Linked DNA regions of Homo sapiens: region 2 is linked to region 1. Evidence: promoter capture Hi-C in 16 types of primary human blood cells and fetal thymus (Javierre and others, 2016). All regions are on one chromosome and are shown on one strand. The core of a region is centred on a gene start or on the middle of the fragment in contact, and the rest is flanking DNA. Distances in the headings are between cores, read along the strand shown.

Region 1 (3,125 bases), core at 409-2,908:
ATTATGCTTTCAACTTTTGACATATAGAACGTGAGAGATTTCTGCTGCCTTCTAACTGGTATCCCTTCCTCCAATCTCTCTTTGTATGTCATCTATTCTCTACACTGCTGCTAGACTTACTCTTTTTAAAACTTAAATCAAATGGCTTCCCATTGCCTATTGGAAAAAGTCAGAATTCCTTGGCTTACCATTCAACAAAATTCACAATCTGGTTTCAACTCACCTTTGCAGATTCATTGTCCATATGTCTCTTCAAGTTCAACAAACATTTATCAAATGCCAGGCATTCTGTGTCGGTCAAAGACTGATAATGTGAGATCCTTGCCCTGAAGTGAGGAAGAGAAACAGAAGCAGAATATTTCAATATGAAACATGGTAAGTACTGTTCTAGAGGTATATGGACCTGGGGTACTGGAAGCACAAAGGAGGAGCTTCCTGGGTGAAATGACTACCTTTGTTCTAACAACATTATACTACTCAGTTTCTTGAGAATGCTGTACATTTCCACAATTGACACTTTCAGCTGTGAACTCTGCCAGAAATGCTCTGCCAACCTTGCACATCCCTGGCAGACTCATATTCATTTTTAAGTACAGCATAAGTCCCCACCGTCCGTCACTTCACCAGTGCATCTCCCTTTCTCTATTCTCACAGTGCTTTGCAAGTCTATGTCACAGCAGTTATCCTTGGATTTTAATTAGTACTTATCGCAATAGATTTTTTCTGCCCGTCTATTTCTTATGGCTGTGGTCTTGTTACAGGGCCAGGCACACAGAAATATCTGGCATTTGTTGAATGTTTACTATATGCCAGACTTCACCTTTTTTGTTTGTTTCTTTTTTGAGACAGGGTTTCACTCTGTAGCCCAGGCTGGAGTGCAGTGGTGCAGTCATGGTTCACTGCAGCCTCAACCTCCTGGGACCAAGCAATCCTCCCACCTCAGCCTCTGGAGTAGCTGGGACTACAGGCGCGCACCATCAAACCTGGATTTTTTCTTTTTTTTTTTTTTTTTTGGCGAGACAGGGTCTCGCCATGTTGCCCAGCCTCCTCTGGAACTCCTGGGCTCAAGCAATCCTCCCGCCTCAGCCTCCCAAAATGTTGGGATTACAGGCATGAGCCACCGGTCTGGCTGGCCTTTATTGTTTGATTCAATTCTTCCAACAACCCTATGAGGCTAATAATCTTATCCCCATTTTTCAGAGTGAGGGCTGAGGCCTAGTGTCTTGCCCAATGTCACAAATGGCGAGGTCAAAAATCGACAGTCTCCAGAGTCTGCTCTCTTAACCACTTAACTATTCTGCCTTAATAATTTCAGAAAAAAAATAAATGAATGAACGAAATAACAAAAAAGTCGCCCTCTTCCCTTACTTTACCGAAAGGAGCACGAAGAACAGGCACGGAGCCCAAGGAATGCCCAAGTCCCTCCAGGGGTTTCCTCGGTCACGGTCCGCCGGCGCAGGCGCCAATCACAGGGTCCTGAGGTCGCCTGACGTTCAGGGCAGCCGGAAGACGGGGAGGTCTGGACCTGAACCGAGACAAGGAGGTACCACACTATTCACTGCTGCGTCGCAGAGCGGGCTGGGCGGCTGTCTGGACCTCGAGAGGCCTGAGGCAAGGATCGCGTCAGACCCCGAAAGCTGGTTTGTTGATTAGTGATCTAAGACCGCCGGAAGCGCTTCTTCTCAATCAAGCTATGCAACAGGAAGTCATTACGATCCCGTTGTAACCTCTAAATATGTCCCCGTTCTGCACAGCATCCCGATAACCGTTTTGTTTTTCTCATATTATGACCTTCTCATGTTAGCACCACTTCGCAACGCTCCAGGTCGTGAAGGAGCAACTTCACCATCGCCGCCTACAGACGCCACTGGGAGCTTGGGAGAGTGGGACGTGGACAGGAACGTAAAGACCGAAGGGTGGGTTTCGAAGGAGCGGATTTCGAAGTTGCACCGGTTGAGGATGGCTGACATTCTCTCTCAGTCAGAGACCCTGGCGTCGCAAGACCTCAGTGGGGACTTCAAGAAGCCAGCTCTGCCGGTGTCCCCAGCGGCGCGGAGTAAGGCCCCGGCCAGCAGTTCTTCAAACCCTGAGGAGGTACAGAAGGAAGGGCCCACTGCGTTGCAGGACTCCAATTCTGGGGAGCCCGACATCCCTCCTCCTCAGCCGGACTGCGGTGATTTTAGGAGTCTACAGGAGGAGCAGTCGCGCCCCCCGACAGCGGTTTCTTCCCCTGGCGGTCCAGCCCGGGCTCCCCCCTACCAAGAGCCTCCATGGGGTGGCCCTGCCACAGCCCCCTACAGCTTAGAGACCCTGAAGGGCGGCACTATCCTTGGCACCCGTAGCTTGAAAGGGACGAGTTACTGCCTTTTCGGGAGGCTGTCTGGCTGCGACGTGTGCCTGGAGCACCCTTCGGTGTCTCGGTACCACGCAGTGCTGCAGCACAGGGCGTCCGGCCCTGACGGAGAATGCGACAGCAACGGGCCGGGCTTCTACCTCTACGATCTGGGAAGCACCCATGGCACTTTTCTCAACAAAACTCGCATCCCACCTCGCACCTACTGTCGAGTCCACGTTGGGCATGTTGTTCGCTTTGGAGGCAGCACCCGGCTCTTTATCCTGCAGGTAGGTAGAAAAACCTAGAATTGAAATTTCGGGTTCATTGGACTGCGTTCTTGTGCTTCTTAAGCTTTGGATGAGGAAGAAGAATCTCCCACTCAGCGATTACGAAAGTGAAGGAATCAAGTCTGGCCTATCATCTTCAGACGGCTGTACACATTGCTATATTTCTGAAAGTCATGTTCACAATCCCGAACTCTAAAATAACTTGTTTGGCCAGGCGCGGTGGCTCGCGCCTGTAATCCCAACACTTTGGGAGGCCCAGGCGGGAGGATCGCTTTAGCCCAGGAGTTTGAGAGGAGGCTGGGCAACATGGCAAGACCCTGTCTCTTAAAAAAAAAAAAAAAAATTAGCCAGGCATCATGGTCCCAGCTGCTCAGGAGGCTGAGGTGGGAGGATCACCTGAGCCCAGGAGGTCAAGGCTGCAGTGAGGTGTATTACAGCCACTGCACTCCAGTCCAGCCTAGGCGACAGAGCAAGACCCTGTCTCTAAATAAATAAATAACCTT
Region 2 (3,125 bases), core at 441-2,940, 260 kb before region 1:
AACCCAAGAGGCGGAAGTTTCAGTGAGCCGAGATCAAGCCACTACACTCCAGCCCGGGTGACAATGCGAGACTCCGTTTCAAAAAAAAAAAAAATTCCTAACTCTCCATAGAAAGCAGTTTTGTCACTTCCAGAGAACCTCACAACCAAATATTAAATGTACTCTTGTCCCCTTAAGACTACATCAACTGATGGGCCAGGCATGGTGGCTCACGCCTGTAATGCCAGCACTTTGGGAGGCCGAGGCGGGCGGATTAAGAGGTCAGGAGTTGGAGACCAACCCGGCCAACATAGTGAAACCCTGTCTCTATTGAAAATACAAAAAATTAGCCGGGCATGGTGGCAGGCGCCTGTAATCCCAGCTACTCGGGAAGCTGAGGCAGGAGAATCGCTTGAACTCAGGAGGCAGAGGTTGCAGTGAGCCAAGATCATGCCATTATACTCCAGCCTGGGCAACAGTGCAAGACTCCGTCTCGGAGAAAAAAAAAAAAAAAAAAGACTACATCAACTGAATCTATTTTCAGATTTGACTTCTTATTTAGCCAACAAAAACTCAAGGGCCTTACCTTATAATTTTTCAGGCACCCCTCCACAACCTACCTCATTTTTTTTTTTTTTTTTTTAAGATGGAGTCTCACCCTGTCGCCCAGGCTGGAGTGCAGTGGTGCGATCTCGGCTCACTGCAACCTCCGCCTCCCAGGTTCAAGCGATTCTCCTGCCTCAGCCTCCGGAGTAGCTGGGACTACAGGCGTGCGCCACCATGCCCAGCTAATTCTTGTATTTTAGAAGAGACAGGGTTTCACCATATTGGCCAGAATGATCTCGGTCTCTTGATCTCGTGATCCGCCCACCTCGGCCTCCCAAAGTGCTGGGATTACAGGCATGAGCCACCGTGCCCAGTGCCTACCTCTTAATCCCAAAGTACATACCTCATCCACTTTTTTCATGGAGAAAGGAGGAAGGAGGAGAACATCAACTGTGGTGGTTTTTTTGTTTGTTTTTTTGAGACGGAGTCTGTCACCCTGGCTAGAGTGCAGCGGTGAGATCTCGGCTCACTGGCCTTCCTATTCAAGCAATTCTCTGGCCTCTGGCTAATTTTTGTATTTTCAGTAGAGACGGGGTTTCACCATGTTGACTAGGCTGGTCTCGAACTGACCTCAGGTGATCTGCCCCCCTCGGCCTCCCAAACTGCTGGGATTACAGGCGTTAAGCCACCACGACTGGCCTGTGGTATTTTGATTACCTTTTCTCAAAACACCCTGGTTGCTGGGCATGGTGGCTCACAGCATTTTGGGAGGCAGAGGCGGGCCGATCACCTGAGGTCAGAAGTTCGAGACCAGCCTGACCAACATGGAGAGACCCCCATCTCTACTAAAAATACAAAATTAGCCAGGCGTGGTGGCACATGCCTGTAATCCCAGCTACTCAGGAGGCTGAGGCAGGAGAATCGCTTGAACCCGGGAGGCGGAGGTTGCAGTGAGCCGAGATCATGCCATTGTACTCCAGCCTGGGCAACAAGATAGAAACTCCGTCTCAAAAACAAAACAAAACAAAACAAACAACAACAACACCCTGGTCACACAGGAAGAGAAGCTTGAAACAGGCAGAAAGTAAAAATGCCAGCTATTGATGATTGCCATTTTTGTCTCAAGAGTCCTCTCTACGGCTAAATCTATCCATCAGTCAGCATGTCAACAACCTTTAGTGGTATGATAACCTTACCTCAAATGAAGCATTAGGACCAAGCAAATAGGGTAAATAAACTTTATTAATTTTTGGATTAAGCCCTAAAGCTTCAGAGGAATGGGAGTACTTTATATTTTCTGGAAAGATAAGATTCAGGGAAGAGGCTAGAACTCATAGTTATTTTCTTGCAATAGCAAAGAAACTATGCTACACTTTGAAGAGAAAAAAAGCCAGAAGGAACACTATCAATGAAGCAGAATAGGATCCCAAACAATACTCTTCAAGAGGATTTGATTAGGCATATTTAACTATTGATTAGGCATATTTATTCAAACAAGGGCAACTTCAGAAACAGCACATTAGCAAGATTTTAATACCCTAAGCAGTTATCTCTCAGGAGGAAGATTAGGATGTAAGGAATAGTCTAGTAAGATCTCTACACACTAAACCGTCCCTGACAAAAAAAATCATTTTCTAATTGAGGAGAAACCAAAAATAAAGGGAAATGCCCTACAGAGAAGCAGCAAATAGTATGGAATCACTGGGCAAACCAACGTGAAACACTGAGTAGCCAAGCAACTCAATCCGTAAGTAAAAGTAGAAAGAAGGGTACCAAAGAAATGAAAAAACAACAGCAGAGAAGTGAAAAATATTAAATGAGAAACCTGGAAGAAACGTTTTACTGCGAGATGGAATATTCACCTCAAATCTCACAACGTTAACAGAAAATGCCATGGAAATGGAACTTCTTGACTACCTACTTTACAAAAAGACTTTCCTACGAAACTATACCCAGATTTATTTATTTATTCTTTTTTTTTTTTTTTTTGAGACAGTGTCTCACTCTGTCGCCCAGGCTGGAGTACAGTGGCACGATCTTGGCTCACTGCAACCTCCGCCTCTGGGATTCAAGCGATTCTCCTGCCTCAGCCTTCCAAGTAGCTATGATTATAGGCACGCACCACCACATTCAGCTAATTTTTTGTATTTTAATAAAGACGGGGTTTCTTCATGTTGTCCAGGCTGGTCTCGAACTCCTAAGCTCAGGCAATCCGCCCGCCGCAGCCTCCCAAAGTGTTAGGATTACAGGCATGAGCCACCATGCCTGGCCTATTCATTTATTTTTTGAGACAGCGTCTCGCTCTGTCACCCAGATTGGAGTGCAGAGGGGCGATCTTGGCTCAATGAAGGCTCTGCCTCTCAGGCTCAAAGTGATTTTCTATCTCAGCCTCCCAAGTAACTGGGACTACAGGTGGGTGCCACCATGCCCAGCTAATTTTTTTGTATTTTTTGTAGAGACAGGGTTTTTGCCATGTTGCCCAGGCTGGTCTCGAACTCCTGAGCTCAGGTGATCTGCCTGCCTCGGCCTCCCAAAATGCTGGGATTACAGACGTGAGCCACTGCGCCCAGCCTAGATATTTCTAATAGACAATTACATCT

What was found. Contacts are between HindIII fragments. The CHiCAGO score rates a contact against its expected background, and 5 or more counts as called.
Region 2: a contact is called between a fragment that was not itself captured here and the fragment with the promoter of SUPT7L in region 1, in 3 of 17 cell types (megakaryocytes, erythroblasts and endothelial precursors). The highest score is 9.4, in megakaryocytes.

The regions. Positions count from the first base shown.
Region 1 is chr2:27,661,956-27,665,080 of GRCh38, forward strand. It overlaps SUPT7L (SPT7 like, STAGA complex subunit gamma), which reads right to left and starts at 1,659. Exons shown (of 6, transcript NM_014860.3): 1 at 1,374-1,659; 2 at 224-326. The coding sequence starts at 237. It overlaps SLC4A1AP (solute carrier family 4 member 1 adaptor protein), which reads left to right and starts at 1,934. Exons shown (of 14, transcript NM_018158.3): 1 at 1,934-2,622. The coding sequence starts at 1,960. The HindIII fragment of the contact is 6,150 bases long and covers 1-2,684 here.
Region 2 is chr2:27,404,470-27,407,594 of GRCh38, forward strand. The region is part of intron 1 of PPM1G (protein phosphatase, Mg2+/Mn2+ dependent 1G); the gene reads right to left. Among named protein-coding and RNA genes, the nearest start is that of PPM1G, 3.6 kb to the right of the region's middle. The HindIII fragment of the contact is 200 bases long and covers 1,591-1,790 here.